2 separate regions of the Homo sapiens genome follow, and region 2 is linked to region 1. Evidence: promoter capture Hi-C in 16 types of primary human blood cells and fetal thymus (Javierre and others, 2016). All regions are on one chromosome and are shown on one strand. Each heading gives the region's core, a stretch centred on a gene start or on the middle of the fragment in contact. The rest is flanking DNA. Distances are from core to core; before and after follow the strand shown.

Region 1 (6,922 bases), core at 3,094-5,593:
ATTTGATGTGGAAAGGCAGATTGGCGGTTACACCCCTAATTTTTCCTACCCCTTTAAAAAATGAAATTATATATATTTCCTTCCCTTTCCCTTTCCTTCATTTCCTTCTTTCTTTTCTCGTTTCCTTCCTTTCCCCCCGTCCTTTCTTACAGTCTCACTCTCACCCCTCGAACTTCTGGCCTCAAGCAATCCTCTGGCTTTGGCCTCCCAAAGTGTTGGTATTACACGCATGAGCCACTGTGCCCAGCCAGTCTATTCCTTTTAACCAAAATTCATAGGTAGTGCCCAGAGAGAGTACAAGCTCTGACTCATATGGCAGTATTTACTTAAAAAAAAAAAAAAATGCCAGGCATGGTGGCTCACGCCTGTAATCCCAGCACTTTGGGAGGCTGAGGCAGGCGGATCGCCTGAGGTCAGTTCAAGGCCAGCCTGACCAACATGGTGAAACCCCATCTCTACTAAAAATACAAAAATTAGCTAGGTATGGTGGTGGGCACCTGTAATCCCAGCTACTTGGGAGGCTGAGGCAGGAGAATCGCTTGAACCTGGGAGGCGGAGGTTGCAGTGAGCCAAGATTGTGCCACTGTACTCCAGCCTGGGCGACAGAATGAGACTCTGTCTCAAAAAAAAGAATAATAAAAATAAAAAATAAAGTAAAATAAAAAAACAGGCCAGGCACAGTGGCTTACGCATGTAATCCCAACACTTTGGGAGGCTGAGGCAGGTGGATCACAAGTTCAGAAGATCGAGACCAGCCTGTCCAACGTGGTGAAACCCCGTCTCTACTAAAAATACAAAAATTAGCTGGGCATGGTGGCGCGTGCCTGTGTTCTCAGCTACTTGGGAGGCGGAGGCAGGAGAATCGCTTGAACCCAGGAGGCAGAGGTTGCAGTGAGCCGAGATTGTGCCACTGCACTCCAGCCTGGGTGACAGAGCGAGACCCGTCAGAAAAAAAAAAAAAAAAATTAAGTTTGAGGTTGCTTTTAAATTTTAAAAGATTTGTAAGGCAACTTTGGCATAGAGTTTGCCTTCCAGACACAGATCCAAAAGTATTTTCTTTTCTTTTTTTTTTTTTTGAGACAGAGTCTTGCTCTGTTGCCAGGCTGGAGTGCAGTGGCGCGATCTCAGCTCACTGCAACCTCCACCTCCCAGGTTCAAGCGATTCTCCTGCCTCAGCCTCCCAAGTAGCTGGGACTAAAGGAGTGTGCCACCATGCCCGGCTAATTTTTGTAGTTTTAGTAGAGACGGGGTTTCACCATATTGGTCAGGCTGGTCTCGAACTCCTGACGTTGTGATCTGCCTGCCTCGGCTTCCCAAAGTGCTGGAATTATAGCCGTGAGCCACTGCACCTGGCCGGTATTTTCTTTTTAAAAAAGTATACAAGCAGCCCATGATTATATGCTTGAGATAAAATAGTACAGAAGTAGTAGTTCTAAATAATGTCAAAAGTGAATATATTTCCTTTAGTCTCTTCTGATACTCTCCTCCCCAGACGTAATCAAAGTTAATGTTTTAATGTATATCCAGACCTCTTCCTTTACAGTTACAAATGCATATTTATATTTATGTCTATGTCTATCTGTGTTTTTTTTTTTTTTTTTTTTGAGACAGGGTCTCACGCCCATGGCCCAGGCTAAAGTGCAGTGGTGCGATCTCAGCTCACACAGCCTCGGCTTCCTGGGCTCCGGTGATTCTCCCACCTCAGCCTCCTGAGTAGCTGGGACTACTGGCATGCACCACCACGCCCAGCTAATTTTCGTATTTTTAGTAGAGACGGGGTTTTGCCATGTTTCCCAGGCTGGTCTCGAACTCCTGGGCTCAAGCAATTTGCTCACCTTGGCCTCCCAAAGTGCTGGGATTACAGGCATGAACCACCACACTCGGCCCACATCTAAATATTTATATACTTTTTATTTTAAATAAATGGGATTCGCGGCTGGATGCAGTGAGCTGTGATTGTGCCACTGCACTGCAGCCTGGGTGACAAGAGTGAGACCCTGTCTTAAATAAATAAATACACAAATATGACTCTGTGCCTTGCTTTTTGCCCTACTTAATATATGTTTGAGATCTTTCCATACTAATATATATGTCTCATTTTTTAAAACAGCTCTATGTAACGTGAATGGATACAAATGTAATTTATTGTAATTTGTCAATATTACAAATCTCTGTGCATGCAGGTAGGGTAAATTCCTAGATGTGGAATTGCAGGTGAAGAGGTTACATTTGCCATCATCCCTAGAAAGAGAAAAGCCATGGTCCAGGTAACTAGTCTTGGTGCTATGAGAACAAACCTTCCGTAAATAAGTATATGGGAAATGACCACATGCTAAACCACCCTCTTGGCCATTCACAATCAAGTAGCATATTAAAAGTTCTGGAAATTCTTCAGTAACCACTCTGTTGAGTGGTTTAAAAAGAGTTGTTTGTAAAAGGAAAGACTTTAATTCTTTGTACACATTTATTAAAATCTCCCTGAACAGTTAGTTAAATGCCACCATATACTAATCTCTCAAAGACAGTACAGCATTTGGGTAGGAATTTGGCCACACACTATGCCACCCAATTGGGCAGCTGGGGTGGGGTCAGGTTTGGACTTTGTCCAGGAACCAAGAGATGCCTGTCTTGGTGGCTTTGGTGAGAGGGACTCAGCAAGCAAGGCCTGGCAAGAACGTCAAGAGGCTCTGGGGGACGGTTGCAATTTTACTCTAGCCTGGCTGAGAGGTGATGTCAGACCTAGCAGACACACTGCATCAATCAGGCCCAGGCCTCCAACACAGAACAGTGCAGATCTAGAATCCCTAGAGAAGGAGCCCCTCAGGGTGGAAGACGGTAGACCACATCCCCCTGTTGACCCACTTCTGGCTAATTGGTGAGGTCATGGCTAACTTCCAAAGCTCAGTGCAGATATTGCCTCTGAAAACTTCCGAAGCCCTCAAGCTTTTACAGCCAGGTCAGAATAAACCACTCCTGTGTGTTCTCCTAGCACCTTTGCTGCATCTCTTAGTGCAGTCAGTGAATCTAGTTTGTCTTCCAGTTCATACTAACCTACCTTGTGAAAAGGAAGGGTCACATAATGAATTGTGTACTTTACAGTCTTCTCTAACAAAAGTGGGAGCTCTTCCATAGTGGGATACTGTTCAGGCTCTCATTCAATCATTACTGAGCACCTACCACGTGTCAGGCATTAGCTGAACTGCTGGGAATTCAGGGGTGAGGCAGACCCAATCCCTGCCCTCACTCTTACATCTCCTGTAGCCTAGCCCAATGTCTAGCCCAGGGCCTGGCACAGTAGGGCTTACGGATGGCAATCTCATTGGAAAGTTTGTCTTGAAACTGCCTTTGCAAAACAAACACTGCTTTAACTTACCTTCTATGCTAAATATATTAATAAACATTTTCTCAAGATGCATTGTCCACTAATAGCTTAGTGTTGAAGAACAGGCCTTGGGTCAGATGGACCTGGATTAAAATCCCTGTTCCCTCCTCTTACTGCTTGAGGGACTTTGGACATGTTACCTGACTTCTCTGAACTTGAGCTTCCTGATCTGTAAAATGGAGACAGTAATACCTCACAGGGTTGTTGTGAGGTGAGGAGCCTGCCCTATAGCAAGTGTCCTGCCATATAGCAAGTGCGCAGTAAACACTGGCCATTCTTCTTCTTGGTGTGATTACTGGGAATTAGTTGCCATTGTGCTGTTGGGACTGGTGACAGAACTCTTGGATTGAGAATGCCGAGATGGTGCACGGAAGATTCTGTGTGCTCTTTCAGACCAGGAGGAGGATGAGGAGGAGGAAAGTTTATATGACGTAAATTCATTTGACCGTAAGATATGTATTTAAACATCGTGGAGGATCTTGGGGGTCTGATGGGGAGTGGGGTTGCTGAAGCTCCAGCCACCCCTAGGCCCTCCACCTGGCAGGACCAAAGTTGGGGCAGTAGCCGAAGCACCGCCCCCCGGGCCCCGCAGGAGTGTGCAGTCACCCAGTTAGGCCTATCTTGGCCTGCCCATCACTCCTGGCCTGCGGTCTCCTAACCCTGTGGCAGCAGCAGCATTCCCTGAATGGATCGAAGGCTGCCATGGTGTCGTCCGCTGAATTGCTATAGGAGTCAGCCCAGGGCTGCTCATGTGCACCTCAGGTTGCTGATGGCAGCTCTAGTTATTTGGGGATGGAAGTTTGGGGAGAGTGGGCCTTGGTCCACCCTGTGCGAAAGGGAATTCCACAGCCCCCCGGGCGCCCGCCCCCGCCCCCGCCCCGCCCCCTCCCCGCCCCTTCCCCGCCGGGCCCCGGGCCCCGCCCCCGCTCTCCATAGTTACCGCGCTGTGGAGGCGGCGGCCATCTTGGCGGCGGAGCGATGAGCGGGTCTAACCCGAAGGCTGCGGCCGCGGCGTCGGCGGCTGGGCCCGGGGGGCTGGTGGCTGGCAAGGAGGAGAAGAAGAAGGCGGGCGGCGGCGTCCTGAACCGCCTGAAGGCGCGGCGGCAGGCGCCCCACCACGCGGCCGACGACGGCGTCGGGGCAGCGGTCACGGAGCAGGAGCTGCTGGCGCTGGACACCATCCGGCCCGAGCACGTCCTGCGCCTCAGCCGGGTCACCGAGAGTGAGTGCCGCGCGGGCCGCGCCCTCCCCTCGCGCCGTGCCCCGGCTCCCGGAGCCTTCAGCGGACCCGGCCACTTGACCAGCGCGGGGGTCCCCGCCAGACCCCCTCGGCCGGCCGGGCCGCGCTTCCCGCTGCCCCGCCGGCCGGGCTTTGCTCCCGCCACGCTCACGTAGCTCTGGTGGGGAAGGACTCTCCTGGGCTGGACCGCATTCCTGTGAGTCCGGCCACGCTAGGATGCCCTTCGGCCGGTCGGCTCCCCAGCTCTGCCGGACCTGTTTGGGTAGAGGGCCCCGTTCAGCTGAACTGGATCCTCCTGAGCCGGCCGGGGGCCGAGGTCCCCTAATAAATGGGCCCCTGGGCCCTCAGCCTGGAACCCCCGGCCATCAGTGAAGTTCCCGCTCAGCCAGGCTCCCCCAGCCCTCTGGCAGGCCAGAAGCCTTACCTGCTTCCTCCGCCCTGGCCCCATGGCAGCCCTCCCCCATTGCAGCCTGCCCGGCCTCCCTCCCTCTTTGGGTCGGGAGCGTTGCCCCTTAGTGTGCAGATGGGTTCTTCCTCAAAACACATAGCCGTGGCATTTCCTGCTCATTTAAAACTGTGCCACATTAAAACAAAAATAAAGTTTCAGTTTGTGTACAGACTCCGACATGTGAATCCTGCTTTTGACATTCTCGTGAATTAAGAATGATTTCAGAGTTTCAGAAATGCGTTTCCTGCACAAAAGGCAACCATCCTAAGCTTTTTCGTTGATAGGAGGATGGGTGGGAAGAAAAATGTTGCCCAGTCCCTGCCCTGGGTGATCTCCCTTTTTCTGTTCTCTGCCAAGCCAGTCCCTGACTTGACGTCTTTTCTCTTGCTGCTGTTTTCCCTGCAGGAGTGTGCACTCACCTAGTTAGGCCTATCTTGGCCTGCCCATCACTCCTGGCGTGCAGTCTCCTAACCCTGTGGCAGCAGCAACATTCCCTGGATGGATCGAAGGCTGCCATGGTGTCTGCTGAGCTGCTATAGCAGGCAGCCCAGGGCTGTTCAGGTGCACCTCAGGTTGCCGATTGCAGCTCTAGTAATTTGGGGATGGAAATTTGGGGGGAGTAGGCCTTGGTCCACCCTGTGCGAAAGGGAATTCCCATTTCCTAAAAGAGTTTTAATTTGATTCTAGATATTTGGATGCCCCCGTTTCCCAATACTGTTTGGGTTGAGACTGTCCTTACCAGACCTGAACGTATCTTTAGACATTCTTGTTAGTTTTATTGAAACAGTGTGAAAAAGCTTCTTTTCTTCTGAACCAGTTTTCATTTGGGGCTCTGAAAGTACAGATGCTCAGCACCTGGTCTTGGTAACCTCATGCCCTCTCCTGCCATCCAAGTGAGTTAGGGTATTCTGTGCCTGGCCCTAAGCAGGATTCTCAGTGGGCACTCAGATCCTATCTGGGGGCTTGGGATTGTTGCTCATTGTCCAAACCCACCTCTGCAGCTTCTTAGAGTCTGGCAACCTCTTTGTTACTCTTCTTAACGTCTCGTTCATTCTATCCAGCAGATTATTTGAGTACCCTCTAAGAGTCCAAAGCCAATGTTAGCCTTTTTAGCAGTTACAGAATAATCAGTAGTTGTCAAGTTTGTCGTCTTAATAAAGAGACAACTTGTAAAACACGAAAACAACTAACTCAGGCAATAAAAGATCAAGTATCAAAATGAGCTGTGGAGAAGATGCTATCCGGAATCATCCTAGAAAGAAATCAGTGAAATTTGCTGTGATTAGAATTATTTCAATTTGCGGCTCATGTTCTAGTCACTTGGGCCTAATGTCTTCACCGGCAGATTTATCCTCTTGCCTGGATATGTATGATATGTATTGTCTACTGTATGATTTTGTGTAGCCCACAAACTAAGATTAGGTTTGTACATTTTTAAATGGTTGAAAAAAACTTTAAAATCTTGAGACACGTGGTTATGTAAAATTCATATTTCAGTGTCCATAAATACAGTTTTACTGGAATATAGCCACATTCATTCATTTGCGTATTGTCTGTGGATGCTTTTGTGGCTACAATGATAGAGTTGAGTAGTTGTGACAGAGACCATGTGGCGGCAAAGCCTAAATTATTTAGAATCTGGCTCTACAGAAAAGTTTGCTGATCTCGGCTTTCTTACACTGACAGTTGGCAAACTAACGTTGGCAAACTAGCACTGTATTATCTGCTAAGTCAGTTTAAATGTCTTAGATTGGAATTCTATAAAAAGTTCGCCCTGTTCTGACATCCAACTTGATAGATGATGAAAGATTTTTATGTGTTTCCAAAGAAATCCACCTTTTCTATCCTAGTT
Region 2 (6,922 bases), core at 1,900-4,399, 260 kb after region 1:
CTAGGCTAAAGCATCAAAATGTACTCTTGCCTCTGGCATTTATTTGCAAAATAGTGGTACACGAGGTAATTGTAGGTGATATGGTACATGTAGGGAGAACATTCTCTTTTCAGTCCCTTCTAAAGTGCTTACATTGAGGAGAAAGTTTCAATTAGTTGCTAGTCTATCTTTAACACCCCTCTGAACACTGCCTAATTTCCTTTCAACATAGAGAAACCCTCCTTAGGCTTAGGGCCTTAGTGTGAAACAAGAACAAGTGTGAATGCCTCATTTCCATGTCTGAATGACTGCTTGCTATTTATGGCAAGGGATACTCTTTTTCTTTTTCTTTTTTTGAGACAGAGTCTCACTCCGTCACCCAGGCTGAAGTGCAGTGGCACGATCTCGGCTCGCAGCAACCTCCGCCTCCTGGATTCAGGTGATTTTTGTTCCTCAGCCACCCGAGTAGTTGGGATTACAGGCACGTGCCACTATGCCTGGCTAATTTTTGTATTTTTAGTAGAGACGGGGTCTCACCATGTTGGCCCTAGCCTCAAGTGGTCTTGAACCCCTAGCCTCAAGTGATCCTCCTGCCTGGCCTCCCAAATTGCTGGGATTACAGGTGTGAGCCACTGTGCCTGGCCGGGATACTGTTTTTTTGAGTATTAAAATTATATAAAGCTTTTCTTTTCTTTTTCTTTTTTTTTTTTTTTTTTGAGACGGAGTTTCGTTCTTGTTCCCCAGGCTGGAGTACAATGGGGCGATCTCGACTCACTGCAACCCCCGCCTCCTGGGTTCAAGCAATTCTCCTGCCACAGCCTCCCGAGTAGCTAGGATTACAGGCATGCGCCACCACGCCCAGCTAATTTTGTATTTTTAGTAGAGACGGAGTTTCTCCATGTTGGTCAGGCTGGTCTCGAACTCCCGACCTCAGGTGATCTGCCCACCTCGGCCTCCCAAAGTGCTGGGATTACAGGCATGAGCCACCGCTCCCGGCCAAAACTTTTCTTTTTAAAATAAGTTTAGTTTTAAAAAAGTGAGTTGACAGGAGCAAAACTGCTAAGTAAATAATGCAAAAGGCAGTGGTGCTCAAATATGGGAAAATAATATGCAGGTGATACCAGAGTCTTGCCTTTGGGAAATGCAGACCCAGGTCCTTTTGTCTTTAGAGCTCACCGGCAATGCGAGGTGTTTCAGGTAGAAGGAACAGCATCAATGGGGTGTTGGCTAGTGTTTAACAGCTGGCTCTCTGAAAAAGCAAAATAAAACACACACACACCAAATCTGATGGTCTGTTTCCATGATGTGAGTACCTCCAGCTGGGCCGAACTGACATCACTGAACACAGTGGAAAGTGATGACTGCAGTTGTCTCTCCTGGGAGCTTCAACACAGTACAGGCTGACAAAAGTGGGCAGGGGGTAAGGGCAGGTGGTGGGAGTGGCCTCTACGCCAGAGAAGGGAATGGAGAGGTCAGGCTGGCTAGAGAGTGGGGTTGAGTCGTCCATGCCCTTGAATGCCAGGATGAGGGCTAAAGAGTCAAATGGAATGGGTGACTTCATATGCAGAAGTTTTTACAAGAGAAGAGAACTCAGTTTGGCCAAGAGAAGTGGGGTCGTCATGTTGGTAATCACGTAACAGTGATCGTTCAGTCATGCGGAATGCTTTCAAGGTGTTGGACACTGTTCATTTTTTATTTTTAGTTTTTGAGGCAGGGTCTCACTCTGTCGCCCAGGCTGGAGTGCAGTGGTGCAATCTTGGCTCACTGCAACCTCTGTCTCCTGGGTTCAAGCGATTCTTCTGCCTCAGCCTCCCTAGTAGCTCGGATTACAGTTGTTTGCCACCACGCCCGGCTAATTTTTGTATTTTTAGTAGAAATGAGGTTTCGCCATGTTGGCCAGACTGGTCTCGAACTCCTGACCTCAAATGATCCACCTGCCTCGGCCTCCCAAAGTGCTGGGATTGCAGGTGTGATCCACCACACCTGGCCGCTTGCAGGGTGTTGGACACTGTGGATATCACCTCATTCATTCTCCTAACAACCCAAGAGAAGAGGAACTGAGGCAAAGAGAAGTTAAGCAAGTTGCCCAAGGCCATACGGCTAGTAAACGGCAGAACGAGGCTCAAACCCAGGCACTCTGGCTCTAGAGTGTGTGTTCCTAACCACTGTGCTCTAGCACCTCGGAACCTTAGTCTCTTCATCTGCAAAATCAGCACTGAGGTGACAAGGCCAACGAGCAGAGGGTTGGAGTTACCCAGAACAACAACAACAACAAAAGTAATAGTAACACATATTTGGTCAAGGCTTAGATTCTGGCGTCATGGGGATCTGGGTTCAAATCCTAATTCTGCCTTAGCCGATTAGGGTCCCTATCCTCTTAAAGCCTTGGTTTCCTTATCTGTAAAATGGGGATATCATGAAGCTGTTAGATGTTAAATGAGAAAATGAATGAGAAAATTGCATGTACTGTCCATAAAGTTGAAAAGATAATAGGGGTGGGAAGGAGAACAGTCCGAGTTTGAATGCAGGTGGGCCCTGGGGCATTGTCTGGACTGAAGGACAAGGGTCAGTTGAATTGCCAAAGAGCTCTGAGACTGGCTGAAGGGACACTCGTCTTGTGCTAGCTGCTAAGACCAAGGGGAAGCCTGTGCCTCGCCCGAATTTTAGTCTTGCAAACAGCTGCTCACCCAGTAGGAGAGAATTGTGATAAAACTCATAGCCACCATTTCTTGAATATCTACTATGCCCCGGGACACAGCAGACTATTTTAGAGAATTTGCGAAGGAAACACAGTGACATCTGTTGGACACCTTGCAAACTACCAGCTCAGGATAGTTAAATTTGAATGTTAGATGGAGGGAACTTCCTTTCCACAATGACATGATTTTGTAAAGCTGAGTGTATGGCAGTTGTCATGATTAAAAGCAAGTGCCATGCAGAAGTTATTGTGTAACAGGAAATGAGATTAGATAGCGTCCAATCTAATCTCAAGGTTTGAGTAGCTGTGGACAGCCCAACAGGCACAGGCCTCCCGTTAGTACATCCATACGAGAAGTTAAGAATGAGTGAAAATAGTTTTTTTTTTTTTAATTTATGTGCATTATTTTTTTCAAGCAGCTACCTTGTTAGGACATACTTAATAGTTATCTTGGCCTACCTACTGCACTTACTAAACAACTGTTCACTTTTTAATTTTTAATTTTCAGATTTTTTTGAGACGGATTGTTACTCTATCGCCCAGGCTGGAGTGCAGTGGCGTGATCTCTGCTCACTGCAACCTCCGCCTCCCGGGTTCAAGCTATTCTCCTGCCTCAGCCTCCTGAGTATCTGGGACTACAGGTGTGCGCCACCACATCCAGCTAATTTTTGTATTTTTAGTAGAGATGGGGTTTTACCATGTTGGCCAGGCTGATCTGGAACTCCTGACCTCAGGTGATCCACCTGCCTCGGTCTCCCAAAGCGCTGGGATTACAGGTATGAGCTACCATGTCCGGCTGTTCCTTTTTTTTTTTTTCTTTTTCTTTTTTTTTTGAGACGGAGTTTCTCTCTGTCACCCAGGCTGGAGTGCAGTGTCATGATCTCAGCTCACTGCAACCTCTGCCTTCTGGGTTCAAGTGATTCTCCTGCCTCAGCCTTCCGACTAGCTGGGATTATAGGTGCCCACTGACAAGCCTGGCTAATTTTTGTATTTTTAGTAGAGACGGGTTTTCACCATGTTGGCCAGGCTGGTCTCGAACTCCTGACCTCAAGTGATCCACCCACTTCGGTCTCCCAAAGTGCTGGGATGACAGGCATGAGCCACTGCGCCCAGCCACTGTTCGCTTTTTTTCTCAGTGGTTCTCTAGTCCATTGCCTTAACCACTCACCATGACTACAGCTCTTATTTGCAGTGACTCTCAAGAATGCAAATGCAAATGCCATTCCTGACCTCGAGTTAATTCAGCTTTGTCCCCTGAGCATGGGGGAAAGGCAGGCTGGGGGCTGGAACTTTCTGCTTGTGTACCTATCTCTTTAGACTCTGGAGGCTCCTCCCCAATCTCTGTCATTCCCTCTCCAACCAAATCCACCTGCCGTCCCAGACTCAAATGCTCAGCCACCTAACTGCCTGAGGACCCAGCAGTTAATGAGTTTACATGCTGGGGGCAGGAGTCAGGGCCAACACTCCTTGGTTCCTCTGGCTCCCTGGAAAGGGAAAGTCACCAAGAGGCAGCTGCAGGCAGCAAAGAGAATAAGCAGGAGAACCTCAAAGCCACAAAGGGACAGCACACAGCATCTTCCCTGTTTAGCCTGGACTTGAGAATGCTGTCCCCAGCAGTAAGCTGCTCAACCTCAAAGCAACTTGCACGGGGGTTTACAAAAAAATGCACTTGGCCGGGCACGGTGGCTCACGCCTATAATCCCAACAGTTTGGGAGGCCGAGGTGGGTGGATCTTTTGAGGCCAGGAGTTTGAGACCAGCCTGGCAAACATGGTGAAACCCTGTCTCTACCAAAAATACAAAAATTAGCCAGGCATGGTGGTGTGTGCCTGTAGTCCCAGCTACTCAGGAGGCTAAGGTAGGAGGATTGCTCGAACCCAGGAGGCAGAGGTTACAGTGAGCTGAGATCGCACCACTGTACTCCAGCCTGGGTGACAAAGTGAGGCTCTGTCTCAAAAATAAAAATAAAACATAAATGCACTGGAGGAAAGAGGGTACCACTCTCCTTAAGGCGGGGGCTGCCAACTTGTCCTGCACAGCCCGTCCGCCTGCCTCAGGTGGACTTAAAGCCCAGCTCTGAGGGACTCTGAGCAGTCATTTAACCTCTCTGAGCCTCTCTTTCCTCCCCTGCAGAAGGGGGATTATAACAGTTCCTAATTCATGAGTTGTTCTTGGAGTGAAATACATTACTGGCCAGGTGAGATGGCTCATGCCTGTAATCCCAACACTTTGGGAGGCTGAGGTGAGAGGATTGCTTGAGCCCAGGAGTTCGAGACCAGCCTGGGCAACAAAGCAAGACCCCCATCTCTAAGAAAAGTAAATAAATAGGCAGGGTGCAGTGGCTCACCCCTGTAATCCCAGCACCTTGGGAGGACGAGGTGGGCAGATGGCTTGGGCTCAGGAGTTTGAGACCAGCCTGGGCAATGTGGCAAACTCTTGTCTCTACTAAAAAATACAAAAATTAGCGAGGCATGGTGGCACACGCTTGTAGTCCCAGCTATTGGAGAGGCTGAGGTGGGAGGATCACGGGAGCCCCAGAAGCATAGGTTGCAGTTTGCCAAGATTGTGCCACTGCACTCCAGCTCGGGCGACAGAAGGAGACCCTGTCTCAAAAAACAAACAAAAAAGATAAATATATAAATGAAGCTGGGCATGATGGTGCGTACCTGTAGTTCCAGCTACTTGGGATGCTGAGGTGGGAGGATTGCTTGAAGCCAGGAGTTCTAGGCTGAAGTGAGCTATGATCATGCCAGCCTGGGTGACAGAGTAAGAATCTGGCTCTTAAAAAAATAAAAAGTAAAATGGAACAGGTGAAGTTATTTTCTTTAATTTTTAAAATAAAAAGTTATTTTTATAAATAAAATTTTAATTTAAACCAAATTATTTTAAACTAAATATAACATTATATTTGTATAATATATAAATAATATTTTAATTAAATCTAATTTAAAATTATTCTAAATGTTAACTTTTTTTTTTTTTTTTTTTTTTTGAGAGGGAGTCTCGCTCTGTCGCCCAGGCTGGAGTACAGTGGCGCGATCTCGGCTCACTGCAAGCTCCGCATCCTGGGTTCACGCCATTCTCCTGCCTCAGCCTCCTAAGTAGCTGGGACTACAGGCGCCCGCCACCACGCCAGGCTAATTTCTTGTATTTTTAGTAGAGACGGGGTTTCACCATGTTAGGCAGGATGGTCTCAATCTCCTGACCTTGTGATCCGCCCACCTCGGCCTCCCAAAGTGCTGAGATTACAGGCGTGAGCCACCGCGCCCGGCCTAAATGTTAACTTTTAAATTGTCTTTTTTTTTTTTTTTTTTTTTTTTGAGACAGTGTCTTGCTGTATCACCCAGGCCAGAGTGCAGTGGCATGATCTTGGTTCACTGCCACCTCCGCCTCCCAGGTTCAAGTGATTTTCCTGCCTCAGCCTCCTGAGGTTAATTTTTGTATTTTTATTACAGATGGGGTTTCACCATATTGGTCAGGGTGGTCTCGAACTCCTGACCTCAGGTGATCTACCCACCTTGGCCTCCCAAAAGTGCTGGGATTACAGGCGTTAGCCACCACGCCCGGCCAAAATTTTCTTAATTTAAAAATTTAACTCAATATATTTTTTAAAAATTATCATTTCAAGAAGTGACATTAGCCATCTTTCAAGTGCTTGGTAGCCACATGTGGCTGGTGGGTGAGGGCAGGGCCTGTTTTTTTTTTTTTTTTTTTTTTTGAGACAGAGTTTTGCTCTTGTTGCCCAAACTGGAGTGCAATGGCGTGATCTCGGCTCACTGCAACCTCCGCCTCCTGGGTTCAAGTGATTCTCCTGTCTCAGCCTCCTGCGTGCATCACCATGCCCAGCTTTTTAAATTTTTAGTAGAAATGGGGTTTCATCATGTTAGCCAGGCTGGTCTCAAATTCCTGACCTCAGGTGATCCACCCACCTCGGCCTCCCAAAGTACTGGGATTACAGGCATGAGCCACTGTGCCTGGCCACAGGGCCTGTATTTAGATGTTTGCTATTTTGTTCAGCACAGATTATTTTACATTAGTTAAAAAATATTTTTTGAGGCCGGGCATGGTGGCTCACACCTGTAATCCCAGCACTTTGTGGGGCTGAGATGGGAGGATCTCTTGAGTCCAGGAGTTTGAGACCAGCCTGGGCAACATGGTGAAACTCCGTCTCTACCAAAAATACAAAAAAAAAAAAAAAAAAAATTAGCTGGGTGCAGTGGTGCACACCTGTAGTCCCAGCTACTCG

What was found. Contacts are between HindIII fragments. The CHiCAGO score rates a contact against its expected background, and 5 or more counts as called.
Region 2: a contact is called between the fragment with the promoter of HNF1A-AS1 here and the fragment with the promoter of UNC119B in region 1, in 14 of 17 cell types (M0 macrophages, erythroblasts, activated CD4 T cells and 11 more). The highest score is 18.4, in M0 macrophages.

The regions. Positions count from the first base shown.
Region 1 is chr12:120,706,115-120,713,036 of GRCh38, forward strand. UNC119B (unc-119 lipid binding chaperone B) reads left to right here and starts at 4,344. Exons shown (of 5, transcript NM_001080533.3): 1 at 4,344-4,604. The coding sequence starts at 4,361. It overlaps LOC124903036 (a long non-coding RNA gene), which reads right to left and starts at 4,392. Exons shown (of 2, transcript XR_007063491.1): 1 at 4,323-4,392; 2 at 3,819-4,160. LOC124903035 (a long non-coding RNA gene) reads right to left here and starts at 386. Exons shown (of 2, transcript XR_007063489.1): 1 at 1-386. RefSeq lists silencers at 4,234-4,293, 4,384-4,653 and an enhancer at 4,261-5,103. The HindIII fragment of the contact is 2,396 bases long and covers 2,942-5,337 here.
Region 2 is chr12:120,969,143-120,976,064 of GRCh38, forward strand. HNF1A-AS1 (HNF1A antisense RNA 1) reads right to left here and starts at 3,150. Exons shown (of 1, transcript NR_024345.1): 1 at 696-3,150. RefSeq lists an enhancer at 3,743-4,270. The HindIII fragment of the contact is 11,110 bases long and covers 659-6,922 here.